Linked DNA regions of Homo sapiens: all the other regions are linked to region 5. Evidence: promoter capture Hi-C in 16 types of primary human blood cells and fetal thymus (Javierre and others, 2016). All regions are on one chromosome and are shown on one strand. Each heading gives the region's core, a stretch centred on a gene start or on the middle of the fragment in contact. The rest is flanking DNA. Distances are from core to core; before and after follow the strand shown.

What was found. The method cuts DNA at HindIII sites, captures the fragments that hold promoters and counts their contacts. A CHiCAGO score of 5 or more calls a contact.
Region 1: a contact is called between a fragment that was not itself captured here and the fragment with the promoter of IKZF5 in region 5, in 8 of 17 cell types (fetal thymus, total CD4 T cells, activated CD4 T cells and 5 more). The highest score is 11.8, in fetal thymus.
Region 2: a contact is called between a fragment that was not itself captured here and the fragment with the promoter of IKZF5 in region 5, in 1 of 17 cell types (naive CD4 T cells). The highest score is 5.5, in naive CD4 T cells.
Region 3: a fragment that was not itself captured here is called in contact with the fragment with the promoter of IKZF5 in region 5 in 1 of 17 cell types (total B cells); the score reaches 5.4 in total B cells.
Region 4: a contact is called between a fragment that was not itself captured here and the fragment with the promoter of IKZF5 in region 5, in 2 of 17 cell types (fetal thymus and naive CD4 T cells). The highest score is 6.1, in fetal thymus.
Region 6: a contact is called between a fragment that was not itself captured here and the fragment with the promoter of IKZF5 in region 5, in 3 of 17 cell types (total CD8 T cells, non-activated CD4 T cells and naive CD4 T cells). The highest score is 6.8, in total CD8 T cells.
Region 7: a fragment that was not itself captured here is called in contact with the fragment with the promoter of IKZF5 in region 5 in 1 of 17 cell types (fetal thymus); the score reaches 5.1 in fetal thymus.

The regions. Positions count from the first base shown.
Region 1 is chr10:124,458,717-124,461,571 of GRCh38, reverse strand. No RefSeq gene overlaps it. Among named protein-coding and RNA genes, the nearest start is that of LHPP, 1.7 kb to the left of the region's middle. The HindIII fragment of the contact is 2,693 bases long and covers 1-2,596 here.
Region 2 is chr10:124,401,887-124,404,827 of GRCh38, reverse strand. OAT (ornithine aminotransferase) reads left to right here. Exons shown (of 10, transcript NM_000274.4): 6 at 908-1,030; 7 at 1,773-1,901. Among named protein-coding and RNA genes, the nearest start is that of OAT, 16 kb to the left of the region's middle. RefSeq lists a silencer at 994-1,288 and enhancers at 994-1,288, 825-1,368. The HindIII fragment of the contact is 9,199 bases long and covers 1-2,941 here.
Region 3 is chr10:124,808,220-124,811,057 of GRCh38, reverse strand. All of the region lies in intron 2 of ABRAXAS2 (abraxas 2, BRISC complex subunit), which reads right to left. Among named protein-coding and RNA genes, the nearest start is that of ABRAXAS2, 7.8 kb to the right of the region's middle. The HindIII fragment of the contact is 5,680 bases long and covers 1-2,838 here.
Region 4 is chr10:124,424,898-124,427,821 of GRCh38, reverse strand. No RefSeq gene overlaps it. Among named protein-coding and RNA genes, the nearest start is that of OAT, 7.4 kb to the right of the region's middle. The HindIII fragment of the contact is 4,361 bases long and covers 1-2,924 here.
Region 5 is chr10:123,007,209-123,010,157 of GRCh38, reverse strand. It overlaps IKZF5 (IKAROS family zinc finger 5), which reads left to right and starts at 1,363. Exons shown (of 5, transcript NM_001372123.1): 1 at 1,363-1,464. It overlaps ACADSB (acyl-CoA dehydrogenase short/branched chain), which reads right to left and starts at 1,152. Exons shown (of 11, transcript NM_001609.4): 1 at 1,087-1,152. The coding sequence starts at 1,128. RefSeq lists enhancers at 1,247-1,576, 1,857-2,086. The HindIII fragment of the contact is 4,856 bases long and covers 1-2,646 here.
Region 6 is chr10:121,922,199-121,925,012 of GRCh38, reverse strand. It overlaps ATE1 (arginyltransferase 1), which reads left to right. Exons shown (of 12, transcript NM_001001976.3): 2 at 684-747; 3 at 2,602-2,664. Among named protein-coding and RNA genes, the nearest start is that of ATE1, 4.4 kb to the left of the region's middle. The HindIII fragment of the contact is 1,089 bases long and covers 979-2,067 here.
Region 7 is chr10:124,232,577-124,235,594 of GRCh38, reverse strand. No RefSeq gene overlaps it. Among named protein-coding and RNA genes, the nearest start is that of CHST15, 140 kb to the right of the region's middle. The HindIII fragment of the contact is 2,220 bases long and covers 276-2,495 here.

The sequences.
Region 1 (2,855 bases), core at 1-2,500, 1.5 Mb before region 5:
CAGGGGCGGTGGTTCACGCCTGCAATCCCAGCACTTTGGGAGGCAGAAGCGGGCGGACAGCTTGTGCCCAGGAGTTCTAGACCAACCTAGTCAACATAGTGAGACCCTGTCTCTATTAAAGAAAGAAAGAAAAAGTACAATACAAAATTGAGGCCGGGCGTAGTGGCTTATGCCTGTAATCCCAGCACTTTGGGAGGCTGAGGCGGGTGGATCGCTTGAGATCAGGAGTTCGAGACCAGCCTGGTCAACATGGTGAAACCCCTGTCTCTACTAAAAATACAAAAATCACCTAGGTGTGGTGGCGCATGCCTGTAGTCCCAGCTACTCGGTAGGCTGAGGCGGAAGAACCGCTTGAACCTGGGAGGCGGAGGTTGCAGTGAGCCGAGATTGCACCACTGCACTCCAGCCGGGGCGACAGAGCAAGACTTTGTCTTAAAAAAAAAAAAAATTATATGCAGATAACAGCCCTGCATAGATGAGGATGCATAGGACCTGGGCTGAGAAGAAAACGGGACTATCACAATGCGTTAAACCCAGGAGGTTTTTGGATAAGCTATAAAATACCACTCGATGCTACATTATTTTTGCAATAAATACACATTGATATTAAAAGGGAGGAGTTTCCTCAATGGCCCCTCGGAACCTTTCAAGTTATTAAATAGAAACGAGAACACTTTACTTCTGGTCCAACATAGCTTTGAGCTTTCAAAGAAGAGAGGATCATATTATTTCACCATTTCTTTTCAGGCTCTTGATTCACAGAAAGGATGAGGAATTCGTTGAAATGTTATGGGGTTCAATGAATTGTGTATATTTTGTTGACATGCTTACTAGGGGAGCTGTTTACAAGTGAAATAAAATACAGTTCCTACCCTTTGGGATTTCCACTAATGGGGTTGGGGAGTAGTATACCTTATATAAGGGTTCTTAGTCGCAGACAATAGACACCACTCCAGCTAGAGGGGTTTTGTTTACATGAGGTGAAGGAGCTTACAGATGACGGGTCTAAGTCCTACACAGCCAGGAGCCATGCAGCCACGAGAAACACTTAATTTTACTACTCCATTGGGACCACTGCCCCATCACTTAGTGCAGCCCCCAGCATAGCTGCCCCCAAAAGAACAAAACATATCCACCACTGTGCCCTCCACCTGTGGCCACCCACTCACTTTCACTGTGTCTGGCTTGGTGGAACCTAGCCCACGCTGCAAAGGAGTCTGGGAAATGCAGTTTTTAGTGTTCCAGGGGCTGAGTGAGTCAGTTTGGAGAATCTGCTAGGAACATCATGAACCGTACACGTATTGAGACCCTACTCTGTGCAGTGGGCACAAAAAAGTTCTAGGGTGTGATCCTTGCCTTCCAGGATCAAGACTGGGCAGAGAACAATGGAAGACCTTCACGACTGCTGACCAAATGTGTGCCAAGTGGCAATGAGTGACACAGACACAGTCAAGAGGATGACCTCTGCAGGCCTAGGAGGGCAGCTGTGGCTTCTGGGCAGGGGCAGCCTGAAATGGACCTTGGAGAATGGCTGGGCTTTAGCTTCATGCCAAGGAGGAGGAAAAGGGGTGCTTCTGCCAGTGGTGTGAGCCTACCCATAGTTGTTTCTTTTCAGTCAGCTCTGTGGGTACTCTTGGGCAAGTCCCTTTTCATTTCTACGACTACAGTAGACAGAATAGTGCCCCCTTGAGATGTCCACCTCCCAATCCCCACAACCTCTAAATATATTACCTGACATGGCAAAAGGGACTTAGATCTTGCAGAGCCTATGCTCCTGTAGGGAGATTATCCTGGATGGTCCAGGTGGGCCCAGTATAATGACATGAGTCCTCATAAGGGAAAGAGGGAAGCAGGAGAGAGTCAGAGTCAGAGAAGGAGGTGTGACAGCAGAAGCAGAGGTCAGAGAGAGAGGTGTGAAGATACCGTGCTACTGGCCTTGAATACAAAGGGGCCATGAGCCAAGAAATGCAGGTGGCCTCTGGAAGCTAAAAAAGGCAAAGAATTGGATTCTCCCCTAGAGCCTCCAGAAGGAATGCAGCCCTGCTGGTACTTCAAGTTTAGGACTTCTTACCTCCAGAACTATAATAATAAATCTGTTGTTTTAAGCCACTAAGTATATGGTAATTTCTTGCAGTAGTGACAAGAAACAAATACAGGGATCCAGGTCCCTCACCTGAAAAATGTGGCAAGTCTCTAAGTGTGGGCCACTGATAGGCTAAAACTTGATCTGAAAATTCCAGGCTTTTCTTGGGATGCAATGAGTGTAGGGCATTGTCTATGTTAGGGTTGCATTTGGCTACATGTAACAGAAACCCAGCCATAGTTGCCCAACCAAATCAGATTTTACTTTTCCTCATATATCAAGAAGCCAAGAGGGAGGAAATCCTGGATGGGACAACAGCTCCCAGGACCATCAGGCTGCCTCCTGCTTTCTGCTCCACCACTCTCTCAGCATGTGGCCTGCTCCTCACGCTAGCAAGATTCCTGCTCCACCCGAGGCATCATGACTGCATTTCAGGCAGGAAGGAGGGGAAAGAAAAGAAAAAAGGGCATGTGACAGCTGAGTCTGACCCTTTATACCCAGAAAGCAAAAGCTTTCCCAGAACCCTGATCCAATGGACTCTCATTTGCATCTTTTGGGCCAGAGCTAGCCAGGTGGCACATGAACACCATAGTGTGCCAGGAAGCATACACCACTGACTGAGCTTTCAGCCTGTTATAGCAAATCTACAACTCATGTCTGAATTTCAGCTCAACTATGAATCTATCAACCATCTATTGCTATACTAGACATATGCCTCATCCTTTCAGATTTGCTTGTCATAGTCAGGACTCTTCGGCTGCCAGTGACAGAA
Region 2 (2,941 bases), core at 442-2,941, 1.4 Mb before region 5:
AAGTGATCTGCCCACCTTGGCCTCCCAAGGTGCTGGGGTGACAGGCATGAGCCACTGTGCCCAGCCAGATTTAATTTAGGTACATTTGTGTATTAGAAAACAGGCTGGGCATGGTGGTACATGCCTGTAATCCCAGTGCTTTGGGAGGCCAGGGCTGGAGGAGCACTTTGTGTTCAGGAGTTCAAGACCAGCCTGGGCAGCATAGGGAGAGCCTGTCTCTACAAAAAAATTTAAAAATCAAGGTCAGGCGCGGTGACTCACGCCTGTAATCGCAGCACTTTGGGAGGCCGAGGCAGGCAGATTGCTTGAGGTCAGGAGTCGAGACCAGCCTGGCCAACAGTGAAACCAGAGACAGTGGTGAAACCCTGTCTCTACTAAAAATACAAAAAAAAATTAGCTGGGCGTGGTGCTGTGCGCCTGTAATCCCAGCTACTTGGGAGGCTGAGGCAGGAGAATTGCTGGAACCCAGGAGGCAGAGGCTGCAGTAAGCCAAGATCGTGCCACTGCACTCCAGCCTGGGTGACAGAGTGAGACTCCATCTCCAAAAAAAAAAAAATGAAAATAAATAAAAAATTAGCTGGGCATGGTGCGCAGCTACTTGGCAGGCTGAGGCAGGAGGATCACCTTGAGCCCAGGAGTTCGAGACTTTAGTGGGCCATGTTTGTGCTGCTATACTCCAGCCTGGGCAACAGAATGAGGCAAAAAAGGAAATGTAGGCTAGTGTAACTTAAAGGTGAGGTATTTGGAGCTTCTGATAATTGAATGGCAGTGAATTTGAAGTCAGAATTTACGTTAGTGCGAAAACTTGATTTGCATACTTAATGTAAAATATGTGTGGTATATGCTTTCAGATTTCCAAGTGTGGTAGAAAGGAAGTTATTAAAACTTATTCCTGTTTCTTCTGTAGCGTGCTCTTCAGGATCCAAATGTGGCTGCGTTCATGGTAGAACCAATTCAGGGTGAAGCAGGCGTTGTTGTTCCGGATCCAGGTTACCTAATGGGAGTGCGAGAGCTCTGCACCAGGCACCAGGTTGTCACGTTAGCTGTTTGTGATAAGGCTGAATGTCGAGTTAGCTGTTTGTGATGAGGCTGAATGGGCTCCTCCCCAACTCCTCTCTGAATTCTGCTGATTGGATAAATGCAAAGATTAAATTACTTTCCACTAGAGGGCGATGGCATTCTAAGAGCTTAAGTACTTCCTAGTGCTTAGAAACCTGCACAGAAGCAGACTTTTTCCTGTCTCTGGCCTTGTCCTGGGCCCTGTGCAGAACTGCAGACCTGGTCTTAACAGCGTTTCCTTCCTCGCTGCTCTAAGAGCCTTTCACTCTGAGCCCCCGCAAGCCCTTTGTTGTATTCTCTCCTCCTTTCCCCCAGGGCTAATAGTAGTATATTTTGTTTACCATTTGAGAGTTTCTGTCACATATTAAATGCTTGTGGAATAAACAAATGAATTAATTTGTTCCCAGAGGGTAGTTAGGTCCAGAAAAGCCATACAAAACCCTCACCTTTGCATCAGCACCTTTTCACTATGTAGAGCAGGGCAGAATGGGCCTCTAGGGAGATAGTGGCCTGACAAAGGAAATAGTTGGTGAGTCTACAAGATTCTTATAGGATACTCTTGAAATTGTGTGCAGTTAAAACATTTTTACAAATTTGAGGGCACATCAGAATTACACATTTATTGTTGGTGGGGGGACAGTGAAATAAGGATGGCTATTTTCCCTGTGGAAACGAAAGTGATCACTAATAGGGGTATTTTTTTTCCCCAATAGGTTCTCTTTATTGCTGATGAAATACAGACAGGATTGGCCAGAACTGGTAGATGGCTGGCTGTTGATTATGAAAATGTCAGACCTGATATAGTCCTCCTTGGAAAGGCCCTTTCTGGGGGCTTATACCCTGTAAGTTTCATGTTCCCCCTCTTTCCATTTCCTACTCTTGTAAAATATACCCCTAAAGTATTTATACATCAACTGATTGTGACAACAATGCTTTCAGATTGTTTGATTTTACCAAGTGTGCTGCAGGCCACCCGGAATATCTGTAATAAAAACATTTAAGGGACCAGTGTGTGACCCACTTACTTATTGCCTGAAGAATTGAGTGTGCCTTGGAATTTGCTATGACATTGGATTTGGGTGGAAACAGTTTACCCCCAAAGGACTCCTGTAGACTCCTGTCCTTTTTTCCAGTGTTCAGAAACATGGCATATTACTAATTGTTTAAAACCATGACTGGTGAACAAAGAGACTGAGAAAAATTAATGTTTGTTGTAGTTCATGTCTTGGGTTTGCCTTTCAGAGCCAGTAATTGTTACTACATCAGAGGTCTCTGAAGTATAGATGTTTTTGCTGAATAGACAAAACTTTTGCTAAAAAGAATGCTCAGCTTTGTTTTTTAAGCATTTAAACAAAGCATTTCATCTCGACGTTGGAAGTGATTGTGAAATTATATCATTGCAGAAATAGCTTTTCTCTTTTAGTTGCAAAATTATATTGTTTTGTGCCATTGAAGTGTACCTAAAGTATTTGTAATGTTTTAGGGTATGACTAAGTCATTAGGTTGTTACTGGTAGTTAGGTTGGCAGATGTAAACTCTTTCGTTGAAGTCATTAAGTATCAGTTTCTTGGCCGGGTGTGGTGGCTTATGCCTGCAATCCCAGCACTTTGGGAGGCCGAGGCAGGCAGATCACCTGAGGTCATGAGTTCGAGACCAGCCTGGCCAACATGGTGAAACTATATCTCTACTAAAACTACAAAATAAATAAATAAATAAATAACATGTGTGGTGTGGTGGTGGGCACCTGTAATCCTAGCTACTTGGGAGGCTGAGGCAGGAGAATTGCTTGAGTCCAGGAGGCAGAGATTGCAGTGAGCTGAGATCACGCCACTGCACTCAAGCCTGGGTGACAGCGAGACTCTGGGGAAAAGGATGCTTAGTA
Region 3 (2,838 bases), core at 252-2,751, 1.8 Mb before region 5:
TTAGTAGAGACGGGGTTTCACCATGTTAGCCAGGATGGTCTCGATCTCCTGACCTCGTGATCCACCCACCTCGGCCTCCCAAAGTGCTGGGATTACAGGCGTGAGCCACCACGCCCGGCTGTTTTAGGGTTTTAAAGAATTAAGCAAAACGAAAAGAAAAATAAAAACACCCTAGATGGGCCAGCGTGGTCGCTCACGCCTGTAATCCCAGCACTTTGGGAGGCCAAGGCGGATGGATCACAAGGTCAAGAGATCGAGACCATCCTGGCCAACATGGTGAAACCCCATCTCTACTAAAAATACAAAAATTAGCTGGGAGTGGTGGCGTGCACCTGTAGTTCCACCTACTCGGGAGGCTGAAGCAGGACAATCACTCGAACCCAGGAGGTGGAGGCTGCAGTGAGCTGAGATTGCACCACTGCACTCCAGCCTGGTGACAGAGGGAGACTCCATCTCAAAAAAAAAAAACCAAAAACATCCTCGACGAAAGACTAACTATACCGTCTTACACATCGCAAGTCTTTTTTCTTTTAAGATGAGATCTTGCTCTGTTGCTCAGCCTGGAGTGAACTGGTATGATCACGGTTCACTGTAGCCTCAAACTTTCGGGCTCAAGCAATCCTCCCACCTCGCTTTCTGAGTAGCTAGGACTACAGAAGCACAACACCACGCCTGGCTAATTATAAAAATTTCTTGTAGAGACAGGGTCTCGCCACCTTGCCCAGGCTGGTCTTGAACTCCCGGCCTCAAGCCATCCTCCTGCCTCGGCCTCCCGAAGTGTTGGGATTACAGGTATGAGCCACTGCACCCAGTTTCAAACCTTTACTTAGTAAATAAGTCTATAATGTGGTGAGTGGGTTTTATAGTTTTGATCCACCAGGGCAGGAGTATCCAATCTTTTGGCTTCCCTGGGCCACATTGGAAGAAGAATTGTCTTGGTCCACACATAAAATATACTAACACTAGCTGATGAGCTTAAAAAAAATTTCAAAAAAATATCATAATGGCTGGGCGTGGTGACTCATGCCTGCAATCGCAGCACTTTGGGAGGCCAAGGTGGGCGGATCACCTGAGGTCGAGAGTTCGAGACCAGCCTGACCAACATGGAGAAACCCCGTCTCTACTAAAAATACAAAAATTAGCCGGGCATGGTGGCGCATGCCTGTATTCACAGCTACTAGGGAGGCTGAGGCAGGAGAATCGCTTGAACCCGGGAGGTGGAGGTTGTGGTGAACCAAGATCGTGCCATTGCACTCCAGCCTGGGAAACAAGAGTGAAACTCGGTCTCAAAAAAAAAAAAAAAAAATCTCATAATGTTTGAAGAAAGTTTACCAATTTGTGTTGGGCCTCATTCAAAGCTGCCATGGGCTGCATGCACCCTACAGGCCGTGGGTTGGACAAGCCTGCATTAGGAGGTAGTTCAGCCTCTTGATTCCCCTTAATCCTGACCTAACTTCAATACACACCCTTGGGGCCAGGCGTGGTGGCTCACACCTGTAATCCCAGCACTTTGGGAGGCCAAAGCGGGTGGATCACCTGAGGCCACGAGTTCGAGACTAGCCCGACCAACATGGAGAAACCCCCGTCTCTACTAAAAATACAAAAATTAGCCGGGCATGGTGGCATGCACCTGTAATCCCAGCTACTCGGGAGGCTGAGGCAGGAGAATCGCTTGAACCCGGGATGCGGAGGTTGCAGTGAGCTGACGCCACTGCCCTCCAGCCTGGGCAACAGAGCCAGACTGCATCTCAAAAATAAATGAATAAATAAATAAATAAAACACCCTTGTCCCCTACCCCACATACTAGAAGCCTATCAGAACAGGCTTGAAATTAATTATTTGCTCCCAACATGACCAAAGTTGCCACTTGCCAACAGTATTTCTTCATTTTTCTTTTCTTTTTTTCTTTTTCTTTTTTCTTTTTTGAGACAGAGTTTCGCTCTTGTTGCCCAGGCTGGAGTGGAATGGCACAATCTCAGCTCACCACAACCTCCGCCTCCCAGGTTCAAGCGATTCTCCTGCCTCAGCCTCCCGAGTAGCTGGGATTACAGGCATGTGCCACCACACCCGGCTAATTTTTGTATTTTTAGTAGAGACGGGGTTTCTTCATGTTGGTCAGGCTGGTCTTGAACTCCCAACCTCGGGCGATCCGCCCAACTTGGCCTCCCAAAGTGCTGGGATTACAGGCATGAGCCACTGCACCCCGCTAGCCAACAGTATTTCAAACCACAAACCACTCATCTCCACATATTCTGTATTTTAGTCATATGAACAGGCCAGATTCGCTATGTGTTTTATGCAGACCTCGTTCTGTGCTCCCCTGAATGTACTGCCCATTAAGTTTACCTCCTGACACACATCTTTACTGATTTCTCCACTAGCAGTTTTCCTCTCAACTTTGGGCAGTTCGGGGATTTTCTCTGTTACTTTCTTATAGAATTCTTCTCGCACTGTCTGGTATTTCTTCCTGCCTGTCTAATCCTCCCCGCAGCTCTAGGAGGCAGGGATGATTCTGGGTATTTCCTTCACTGCCCAGCACACGCCTCACATATGAAAGTTCTTCAATAAATGTTTGCCGCATAGCCAGGCACGGTGGCTCACGCCTGTAATCCCAGCAGTTTGGGAGGCTGAGGTGGGCGGATCACGAGGTCAGGAGATCAAGACCGTCCTGGCTAACACGGTGAAAACCCGTCTCTACTAAAAATACAAAAAAATTAGCCGGGCGTGGTTGCAGGCACCTGTAGTCCCAGCTACTCGGGAGGCTGAGGCAGGAGAATGGCCTGAACCCGGGAGGCGGAGCTTGCAGTGAGCCGAGATCGTGCCACTGCACTCTAGCC
Region 4 (2,924 bases), core at 90-2,589, 1.4 Mb before region 5:
TTAGAACAACCCCTTTTACAGGATGGGATAAGTGAGGCTTGGGGTCTCAGGTTACCTAACTGATTATCGATAGAGTCAGGATTTGACTTCTGGATTGCCTCAATCCAAAGCCTGCTCTCTCAAGCACTCTGTAGTATGAACGCTGGGTGCTCTGGGGTCTGGCTAACATGTTCCTTAGAGCATTGGCCACAGTCAAGACTGACACCGGCATGTGCCTCAGAGGGCCAGAGCTGAAATGTATTTAATTGCCTTAATTTTCTTTGGAATCAAAAGGCTGTGCACTGCCCTTTGCAAATTAGGAGCCCTGCCGAAACAGTTCAAAATTGAATTAAAAGTGGAGAGAGGCCAGGCATGGTGGCTCACACCTGTAATCTCAGCACTTTAAGAGGCTGAGTGGGAGGATCACTTGAGCTCAAGAGGAGTTCGAAACCAGCCTGGGCAACATAGTGAGACCGCCCCCGTTATGTCTACAAAAAAAAAAAAAAATAGCTTGGCATGGTGGCACACACCTGTGGTCCCAGCTGCCTAGGAGGCTGAGGCAGGAGGATTGCTTGAGCCCAGGAGTTTGAGGCTGTGGAGAGCTGTGATTGTGCCACTGCACTCCAGCCCAGGTGACATAGCGAGACCCTGTCTCAAAAACAAAACAAAACAAAAACAAAAGAGGTAATTTGTATGATCAAAGGACTAAGTCAAACTTAAGGTGGTGGAGAAGAATATAACTTAAGGATCTCCAAGAATTTTTTTTTAATTTTTTTTTTTGTGATACGATCTCGGCTCACTTCAACCTCCACCTCCACCTCCTGGGTTCAAGCGATTCTCGTGCCTCAGCCTCCCGAGTAGCTGCAATTGCAGGCACATACCACTGCGCCCAACTGATTTTTTGTATTTTTAGGGGTTTCACCATGTTGGCCAGGCTGGTCTCGAACTCCTGACCTCTAGTGATCTGCCCGCCCCGATCTTCTAAAGTGCCAGGTGGGTGAGCCACCGCGTCCAGCCTGTAACTAAAATCTTTTGGGGGAGAATACAGGTTAAAGGAAAGGATCCTGGCCGGGTGCGGTGGCTCACGCCTATAATCCCAGCACTTTGGGAGGCCAAGGAGGGCAGATCATTAGGTCAGGAATTTGAGACCAGCCTGGCCAATATGGTGAAACCCCGTGTCTACTAAAAAATACAAAAATTAGCCAGGCATGGTGGCGCCCGCCTCTAGTCCCAGTAGTCCCAGCTACTTGGGAGGCTGAGGCAGGAGAATTGTTGGAACCCAGGAGGTGGAGGTTGCAGTGAGCCGAGATCGTGCCACTGCACTCCAGCCTGGTGACAGAGCGAGACTCTGTCCCCCAACTCCAAAAATAAAAAAAGAGAACAAAAGAAAAAAGAGAGAAAGGAAGGATTCTATATGACTTTTTTTTTTTTTAATAGGGTCTCACTCTGTCGCCCAGACTGGAGCGCAGTGGCACCATCTCGGCTCACCGCAACCTCTGCCTCCCAGGCTCAAATGATTCTCCTGCCTCAGCCTCCTGGGATTACAGGCGCACACCACTACCACCCAGCTAATTTTGTATTTTTAGTAGAGACGGGGTTTCACCATGTTGGCAAGGCTGGTCTTGAACTCCCGACTTCAAATTATCCACCCACCTTGGCCTCCCAAAGTGCTGGGATTACAGATGTAAGCCACTGTGCCCAGCTTCCTATACCACGATTAAGGATGTGACAGCCACAAAGACAGAGCGTATTGATGACCCAAATACCAGGACTGGCATTGCTTTTGGTGAACTCGATTGTCCCAAACGGTGAAACTCTCTGCAAAGTTCTGTGCAAAAAATATTAAATGTTTTCAGCAAAGATGAAATGATTTACAATACCCATTGTATTAATATATTTATTTCATAGCATTTCATATATTTATTCCATACATTTACTTAGGTCAACAATTTCAGGAATAAACTGTGGAAATTTCTTCTTTTCTGGTTTGTTTTTATTATAGTCCAACTTCAAAGAGTCAGAATTAAAGTCCTCAAAAGAAAAGTAATCAAAGTTATCTAAGTTTGCCATCATGGAATCAATAAAAAAAATCATTGCAAAACACACTGATCTTCTTAGTACCTAAATAGATAAGGATATAAAGTAAATGTTTAACTAGTAATTGAGGTTTATCTTATTTTTTAAAATTAACGAGCAATGTAATATTCTTTAAATAAATACTGCTGCTCATTCCTTAAATTTTTATTAAAAACTTTTATTTCAGCCTTTTTTGTTCTTAGTCAAAATTCTTACTTCTGATTAAATGTCTCAAATGTGGAACATGATTGGTAGAACACACAGTTTCTTGGCTGTCCCTGTGACCCATTTCGTAAGACAGGTGGGGGCCCTTTACCTTGGAATCTTGGATTGGATTTCTCTGCCTTTAAAAGAGTTAGATTAGTTTTTTTTTTTTTTTTTTTTTTTACAGAGTCTCACTCTGTCACCCAGGTTGAAGTGCAATGGTGCGATCTTGGCTCTTGGCAATCTCTGCCTCCTGGATTCAAGCGATTCTCCTGCCTCAGCCTCCCAAATAGCTGGGATTACAGGCATTTGCCATCATGCCCAGCTACATTTTTTTAGAGATGGGGTTTCACCATGTTGGCCAGGCTGGTCTTGAACTCCTGACCTCAGGTGATTCGCCTGCCTTGGCCTCCCAAAGTGCTGGGATTACAGGCATTAGCCACCGAGCCTGGCCTAGATTAGGTTTTAAAGTGTCTCTTTATCTCTAAAATCTATTCTGTATTTGCATCTCTAATGCCTATGTTCATAAGAAAGAAAACATATTATTTTTCTTTTTTTTTTTTTTTTTGAAATGAAGTCTTGCTTTTGTCCCCCAGACTGGAGTGCAATGGCACGATCTCGGCTCACTGCAACCTCCGCCTCTCAGGTTCAAGCGATTCTCCTGC
Region 5 (2,949 bases), core at 114-2,613:
AACAGAGTCAAATTGTAAAACCAAAGAAATTTTCTTTGCTAAGTTATTAACCAACAATTATAAACAGTATTAAACAATAATCACTTACTGTTTTTTATTGCACTTCAGGCCTGTAAAACAGTCAAATAACATTAATTATCTCTAATAAGAAAAAGGGTCAGAGTTCTGCCTCTGGGCATAAGACTGAAGCAGCAGTTGGAAAGCCTAACTCATTAAAGCAAATGCAAAGGAAACATTAAAAGCACACGTAAGCAGTGGGAAAATTCCCAGTGAAGTGTACTGACAAATACAAGTGTATCCAAATGTGTATGTTCTGAAAAGCATGCTATATAATAGGTCCAAGGGGTGAAGAGCATAGGATGTTAACACAGGGGCTGTTAACAGTTTGTGTGGGTGCACAGATAAGAATTAAGCACAACAAGAGGCTGGTTTCAGCTTAAGTTCATGGAAGAGGGACCGGCACCGGCTCCGGCTCCCCTGGGCGGCGGTGAGTCTATCCACGGAAGATACCCAGGCTCCAGACATGAGATAAGGGGCAGAGGGAACTCTGTCCCTGGCCGGGAAGCCCGAACAACTCCGAAGTCCCTTACTACCTTTGAGCGGGGCCGCGGAAGGAAGGACAGGGAGACACCTGCTCAGAATGAGACTGGGCCTATATTTTAACTATCTTTTTTGGGGGAGGGGGTGTGAAATGTAATCACTCGGGAAAGGTGCGTTAGGGCATCAGGGAGGTGACATCTGTGCAAAATGCATCCAGAGATCCAGAGATCCAGACTCGGTGGCTCTCAGGACGCAACGGCCTGCAAAGGACATCTTGCGGACGCGACCCTCCGACTCCACTCAAGGTACTTGCTCCGCCAAAGCAGCTTCTAGACAGCCCCGACCCCCTTGCCACCAGCTGCCTCCACCAGAGGCCTGAAGGGGGTCGGGGTCATAGACTGCCCGCGGGTAAAGAGTCTGGGGACCCAGGACGTGGAGCGGGGCTCAGGCCGGCGCCCCGAGGCCCGTTAGAAGGCTCTGCCAGCTGCGATTCCAGGGGCCAAGGTCGCCCTGGGCCCCCAGGACGCCAGCCTCGAACGCACTCACCAGCCTGCTGCCGCGCAGCAACCGCACTGCCAGGCCCTCCATCCTCGCCGCAGGCCTCTCCGCTCTGCGCCTCTGGGTCTCTAGCCAGCCCCTGGGAGTTACCCGAGCAAGGCCCCGCCCACTCAGTACCCGCCCCGCACACACCCCCCCTTAATCCCTGCCCCCTGCTGCCTACGGAACCCCAAGAGAGACAAACAGGCCCCTCCTCGCTTTCGCCCTCCATCCTGCTCACGCGAGACTTGAGCAAGGCAGGGGGGCGGGAAGGGAGTCGGAGACACAACAAAGATGGCGGCGGCGACTGTGACGGTGACGAAGACGGCGGCGGCGGCGACGGCATTTAACAAGGCGGTGTGGTTTACTCCATGCAGTTGTCAGGAGGTAAGTAGCAGGCTGCCGGCTCGGACGGCGGCGACGCGGCAGGACAGGGCGGATAAGAAGGAGCGGCCGGAGACTGGAGCTGGGTTCGTGGCGGGCCGGCTGATCCGGACGGAGACTCAGTTCAGTGGAGGGTCGGGCGTGGTCGGTAGGCGGGCAGGTGATGGCCCGGGACCTCTTTAGCCGGAGGGCAGTGGACTGCGGCGCCTATGGCCGCGAGAACCCCGAGGGAGCGGGGTCTCCTGCTGTCATTGCCTTCGAGCAGGAGCTCGGAGGCTCCGGGGCGGGGACTGTTGCTTGGCTCTGACAGGTGGTTCTGCGGGAGGCGTCCCGAGGTTTGCGTCTTCACGGGGTCCCAGGGGCTGGGAGTCAGCCGGGCGCGGGTCTCCTAGGTGTTTCGAATCCTGGCGAGGATGTCGCTCCGAATCTTGGTGAGGCTGCTGCCCCGACGCCGGTCCCAGGCTGATTGTTGGGAGAAGGACGTTTAAAGCCTTCGTATTTTATCTAATGATCCTGCCCGGATCCGTCTCTACTGCATGGGCACCCTTATTTTAGGAACATGTGAGATTTGAGAAAGACATTGTAGCAAATAACTATTCAGGTTCATTCGGGGTTTAGATCTTTGGATAAACTGTGTGGAGCGCGAGTAGCCAAGCCTAGCATGCTCGATGACTGGATCTGAAGCTAAACAAGTTCTAGCAAACACTAACCACGTGGCCTGCTTAGAGTCCCCTTGATGTGCTGGTCAGAACCCGAAAGACGTGTGACAAGCGGAAGAAGACATAAAGGCGTCTTAAATTGTGTGATCTGAGGAAATTCAGTTTTGAAAGAACAGAATGTATTTAAAACAACTTTTTTTTAAACGTAGGAACTAACAATTTTAAAAATTCAATTTAATTTTGATTTATGTCGTGTTGTCACAACAGCTAAAGGTTATTATTATTGATGAGAGTTCGTTACAGTGAATTGAAATGTCTGGTGTTATTTTCCCCTAGCGGTCCAGGATGTTTCCCAGAAAACCGTAGCTGTTTTGTGTTATGATAGGATAAGAAGGATGGGATTCAGATGTGCCCTTATCGGGTGTGCATGTTTTTTTTGTTTTTGTATTTAAAGCCCTTTCCCATTTCCCTACTTAGGACTATGCGTTGTTTTTATGCAACTACAGCTGTTCAGCAGTACTAAGCTTGACCGTTTTGGAAGTGTGCTGTGACTAAATGAAGTTAATCTTAATTTCTTTAAACTGAAGTTTAACTTAAATTTAGACATTAAAAATCTTGCCAAAAACTAATCCACCAGTGAGAAAACGGTAGTCACACCAGTTATTCTTTGGTGATCCTATGGAGCTTTTGCTGAAGTGAAGCTACTGCTTTGTTCTTTGATTAATCTGTCAGTTCGTTTTCTTTTCAGCTAATGTAATGATAAGATTGGCATAAGTTACTAGCTCATTCAACCTGTAGATGCTAATTAAGTTTTTATCTTAAAGGTTTT
Region 6 (2,814 bases), core at 274-2,773, 1.1 Mb after region 5:
ATTTTGCTAAGTTTTCTGAAGAGACCAGCATGTTAAATCATTGGGGATATTTATTAAAGTTTGAAGGTCTGATGCAGTCTGATTGCAGTGAGGACTTAAATTTATGCTGTCATAGAGACTATTGACTAATCCTCAAATAAATATAATTAACTTCGATGTGTTTTTTTGAATGAAAATATATATAGTGTCATTCTTTATTTGTGCTGTGTGTATGCCCAACTAACAGCTGTGAAGTATGTACAAACTTTTCATTTATCCAATATGAGTGTTTTGGAATTTTAACCTAAACACTCCTATTTTTTTTTTTTTTTTTGAGATGGAGTCTCACTCTGTCGCCAGGGCTGGAGTGCAGTGGCGTGATCTTGGCTCACTGCAACCTCCGCCTCCCGAGTTCATGTGATTCTCCTGCTGCAGCCTCTTGAGTAGCTGGGATTACAGGCGCCCGCCACTATGCCCAGCTAAATTTTTGTATTTTTAGTAGAGATGGGGTTTCACCATGTTGGCCAGGCTGGTCTTGAACTCCTGACCTTGTGATTTGCCCGCCTTGGCCTCCCAGAGTGCTGGGATTACAGGCATGAGCCACCGTGCCCGGACACACACTCCTATTTTTAAACCTCACACTTTGAATTTAAAAAAGAAAAAAGGTTACCCTGCCGTAATTAACACACTACTTATTTTTTCAGGCATGTGGGCACATTCCATGACAGTACAGGATTATCAGGATCTCATAGACCGAGGATGGCGAAGGTAAAGCTTCCAGATACAAAGAGACTTCCTACTGTTACTCAGGTTCTTGAAAAATACAGCATGCCTTTGAAATGCTTTCCTGTTGGAAAGAGGTTTAAGAAAAATTTTTATTATATTCTTTTATGTAGTGATTTTTTGTCTCCTTTTTAAAAAACTTTGTTAGGAAAATGTCAAATATCTATAAAAGCAGAGAGTACATTAGAATGAACCTCAAGTACCTATCACTAAGCTTCAGCAGTTATTAACGTTCTGCCAATCATGTTTGATTCTCCTGCTCCACCTTTTAATATTTAACAGCAAATTACATCAGTAGGTTATTATGACATTTATCCTATCAATAGATAGGCAATAAGTATGTATCTCTAAGAGAGAGGTCTTTTTTTCTTTTTAACTTATCCACAATGCTGTATCACACCTTACAAAATTAATAAAAATTCTTTGATGTTACCTGTTACCTACTTTTTATTAGATTTTCCAGATTGTCTCAAAAATGTCTTCTTTAACAGTTTATTTGGATAAGGATTTCCTTAAAGTCCACACATGGCCTGTTTTGAGTAGTTATTTTTATGTGGATGATTTTTAAGTAACTCTTAGGTAAAGTTCCTTGTGTAAATATAAGTAATATTAAATACTGTACGCTAATACTTGCCAAAGACGTGGGATTGGGAGCACCAGCTGAAATATCACAACTTTCCTTAAACTTAATGAGATTCAAAAGGTAGACATAGGTCAGATTTTAAAGGACTTCACATGCCATGATAAGGAACTTTTTTTTTTAGAGACATGGTCTCGCTCTGTTGCCCAGGCTAGAGTCGCTCTCTTGCCCAGGCTAGAGTACAGTGCCATCATCATAGCTCACTGTAACCCCAAATTCCCACACTCAAGTGATCCTCTTGCCTCAGCCTCTGCAGTGGCTAGGACTACAGGTGTGCATCACAACACCTGGCTAATTTTTCAGTTTTTTGTAAGATCTTGGCTATGTTGCCCGTGCTGGTCTCGAACATCTGGTTGCAAGTGTTCTTCCAGCTTAGCTTTTCAAAGTGTTGGGATTATAGGTATGAACCACCATGCCTGGCCAGAACTTTTTAGAAGGCAGTCATGGAAGGATTTTATGGTAAGAGAGAAATGTGAAGGAATTTGTTTTAGAAAAGATTGTTCAGATGGCTGAGAGGTATTTGAGGGGGGGTCATAGAGGCAGGAAGATGAGTTCAAAGGTTATTGCGCTATCCAGATGTGCGATGATGAGGACTGTCACCTTAGTGGCAATGGTGATAGAGAAGAGGGGACAATTTAGGATAGGGTTTAAAATGAAGGAAAGCTTGCTAATAGGATATAGAGGTGAATTCCAGGGAGGAGTTTAAAATGACTCCCAGGTCTCTGACTTGAGAACAGAATGAACAGTTCTGTTAGTACCATAGACCTGGAATGCATGGAAAGAAGCGGGTTAGTTTTGGGGTACTCCGTGCTGGTGCATGTGGAATACCCAAGTGTGGTTGTCACAGGCATCACATACATGAGTCCCACAGCATCGTGGGCATTTCTCTCATTGCCCTTGTGGTATTGGGGATTGGTGGCAGGTGAAGGCAGAGCAGGGGTGGCAGATGCTGGTGAGAGGGGAACTGAGATGATTGGCCGTGGGGTACACAAGTAAAGCTTTAGGAAATAAAAGGCAGGGTTCTAAACTTTGCTACACGCACTTTGAAGATTATTTGGCTTATGAAGAGTAATTAAACCTACATGCATTTCTACAATGTTGATTAGATTTTTAACCTTAATTTAATGCTCCTGTGCTAGGCTGTTTTGGTGCAAGTGAAAAATATATAAGACATTAACAAACTATTTTTATAATTTTAGAAGTGGAAAATATGTGTACAAACCTGTCATGAATCAAACATGTTGTCCTCAGTACACAATAAGGTAAGAATTTTAATTAGTAGAAAGAGGATTTATAGTATGAAGATTGTGTATAATATTTTAGTAGTCTCTTGTGCTTTTTTAATGTTTATTTCCGCTCTAGGTAGATGTCCTTTAAAAGGAAAAGTAAATGAGTTATGTCTTTTCTTCATA
Region 7 (3,018 bases), core at 136-2,635, 1.2 Mb before region 5:
GTACGGCTGTAAATCTGGCAATCATGTCCAGCCGCAAAGCTGACCAGATTGACAATTTCAGCACAGGGGTGAGGATAGTGTTATTGATTATGGAAGCATGCAGGAAGGGCATTTAATGCTTCATTGGGGTTAGGGTGGCCTTCCTGGAGGAGGTGGCATCTAAGTAGAGCCTTGAAGGATGAATAGGAGTTGGCCAGGCAGAAACGGTAGATAATTTGCAGAGCTCAGTGCAAAGCAGGAAAAAAGTGCCTCTGAAGATACTAAAATATAAAGCTTTTCCTTTCTTCCGGTCTCTTTCTAGACTTATCGTGGTATTTTAAATTTGCTATTTAATGATGTTCTAAATAAAGAAAATTAAAAATTTAAATTGTTAGCATGAATTTTACCATTCATTCTTTACATTGCATAATGTCAGTTTTGAATAGAAATGTAAGAGCATTTAACTCATACACAGAGTCCCTGAAATGGCACAACTTGCATTCTGTATTTCTTGCATTCACGTGTATTTCATTCTTACCAGGATAGTGGAGACCCTCAACTGTTTTTATTTTGCTGTTTGATATAATCACATTCTGCCAACACTCACTGCCTTCGCCTCACTGACGAGTGAGGAAGAATTGAAGGGAAGAAACTAGGGCTGCCCTGCCTTTCCCTTCCCTCTGAGTTGTCATTTTCAGCCTGAGTGGTTGGCTAACGTGGGGAAGCGACAGTATGAAAGGATAAGATAAAGTCTCCTCGGTTATTCGCGTTTCTAAGAACGCCACTGTTTTTCTTCTAAGATGGAAGCGCTTTCTGGTTTGAAGGGAAAGTGTGGCCTCTTGGGTCCGTCAATGTCCTGCTCACGCAGCGTGTCCTTGTGTTCAGGGCAAGTCTCACTGAACTCCCGTCCTGGGCTCACCAGAATTTGATGCTTACCGAGTGACAAGGAACAGAGGACACAAGTTCAAAGACGAAATTAAGAATTTCAAGATGGTGACAGCAGAATAGTAAACCAAGCCTGGGCCCCTCCTGAGCCCAGGGCCCCACGTGCAAGGTGCATGTGTTGTGGAAGCCCCGTGGTGAGCCTGAGACAGCAGAAACTGAGGCCGACACGCATCTCAAACGTGCCTCCTCTGCTCCCACATGTGCTTGACCCATCTGGACTTCACTTACAAAATGCAAGTTTGAATATAAAATTATTAAGAATTGCAAGATGACAACAGGGGAGTATGAAACCAAGAACACAGCCCTTCTGAGTGAGGTCCCGTGTGACTGCACAGGTCACCCACGGCCGGGTAACAAGATACACCGTGGAGAAACTGCAAGAAGTCCCAACACCTGCCCGTGTGCTGCCTCTGTCATTTATAGGGTATGGGTCTCCCTGTACACTACTCTTTCCTATCCCTCTCCTCTTGCCCCCACCCACTCTGTCACTGTGCTTCCATAGCTCCAGGTCCCCCAGAGCTAAGTGCTTGGCTTTGGGGGTGCTGGGCCCCCCGCAAATGGGCCTGGCAGTGGGCCTGCCTCAGGAGCGCTGCAGTAGGCAGGGCCACCTGCCTTGTGGCTGCCACCCACCCAGGGCTGCGGAAAGGCCTGGTGGACAGAGGGCTGGGGGAGCGTGCCTGGAGCGGGGGGCCTCTCCTGTGACTGACACCTAGGCTGTCCAGAGTGGCCGTGGGAGCCCAGCATGGCCCTGCCACACCCCATGCAGCCTCCGGCTTGGCCCCTGCCTCTCACCTTCCACCCCAAACCCCTCCCCTCTGCAGCCAGGGAAGTCTTTCAGAAGCACACGTTGCGTGGTTTGGGCCATCAGCTTTGGCTGGTGTGACAGGGTCTCAGTGGCCAGCCCCTGTTCACCTCTCCAGCCTCATCGCTGGAGTCTCTTTCCAACTGTCTGACCTGGGCCGGTCCCTCCGGAGGGAGCGTCGTGGTGTGTGCTACCAGGATCGGCAGGTCCCGTGGTGGGATGCTGTAAACAGGGGCTTCAAGGGAGCACAGAACGGCTCAGGTATTGGGCAGCCAGACTCTGACTCTCAGTACTGCTGAAGCCACGGGAAGCCTGGGGCGCTGAGGTGGACCTGGTGCAAAGACACAGAGTGCCAGCATGTCTGGAGGGGAAGCAGGGATGGGAGAGATATCGGGGACAGAAACTCATTTCTGGCCAAGCGCCTGGCTCATCTCATCCTCTGCCTTTTGTCTGAGCTGACCATAATTAGTCGTCTTAGTTCCCTGTGGGTGAGCCAGGCTGTGCAGGGGTTCAGAAGGCTTGAAGCACGTCTTGTCACCCTGGTCCAAGCCGGTCTATTTCTGGCAGTTTAATTGTGGATGCTGTGTTCCTGGCGTGGGAAGGAAGGCAGGAAGGACCTGGAGGAAGTCGGAGCAGGAGAGAAGCTCTGGTCGTGTGACTTTTCCAACCATGGCCCCTTAGGAACAGGCTGCTCCTGGCAACTCAGCTATTCTGCTCCCACCTATTTCTAGCTCGGGGCAGGAAGCTGGTTTAGCAGGGAGGGGAAGCTTCTTGTTAGACTCAAGAGACCAAAGTGCATTTGGAGAAGAGCCATCGAGGTCTGTGTAACTGTCAAGTTCTGGGTAGACATTGAGTTCTGTGTAAAGATGGGGATAGGCTTGGGGTCCAACAGACCCAGACCAACAGCACCTCTGTCCCTCCCAGGGTGGTGTGACAATCCTTGGAAATAACTACACGGCCAGGGCCAAGTCGGTGCTGGGCACACAACACGCGATCCATCAATGGTGGTGGGCATCCCGTCTCTTCCTTCCTTAATAAAGACATCTCAGGGTGAAAAGGGGATGGCGCTGGGCAATACTAGGGTGGAGTGGAGGGTCTTTAGGGCCTCCAGCCAGTGTGAAAATCCACAGACCTGAGGGTGGGCCAGCAGGAAGGAATTTGGGTGGGGATGGTCTTTAAAAACCCAACAGAAGAGAGTGGTTACTGACGACTCTCTTGATACTTAAGAAGGGAAAAAAGAACAGCTTCGAAATCTGAGACAATGGATTGTAGTATCTTTGATGGAATTCAAA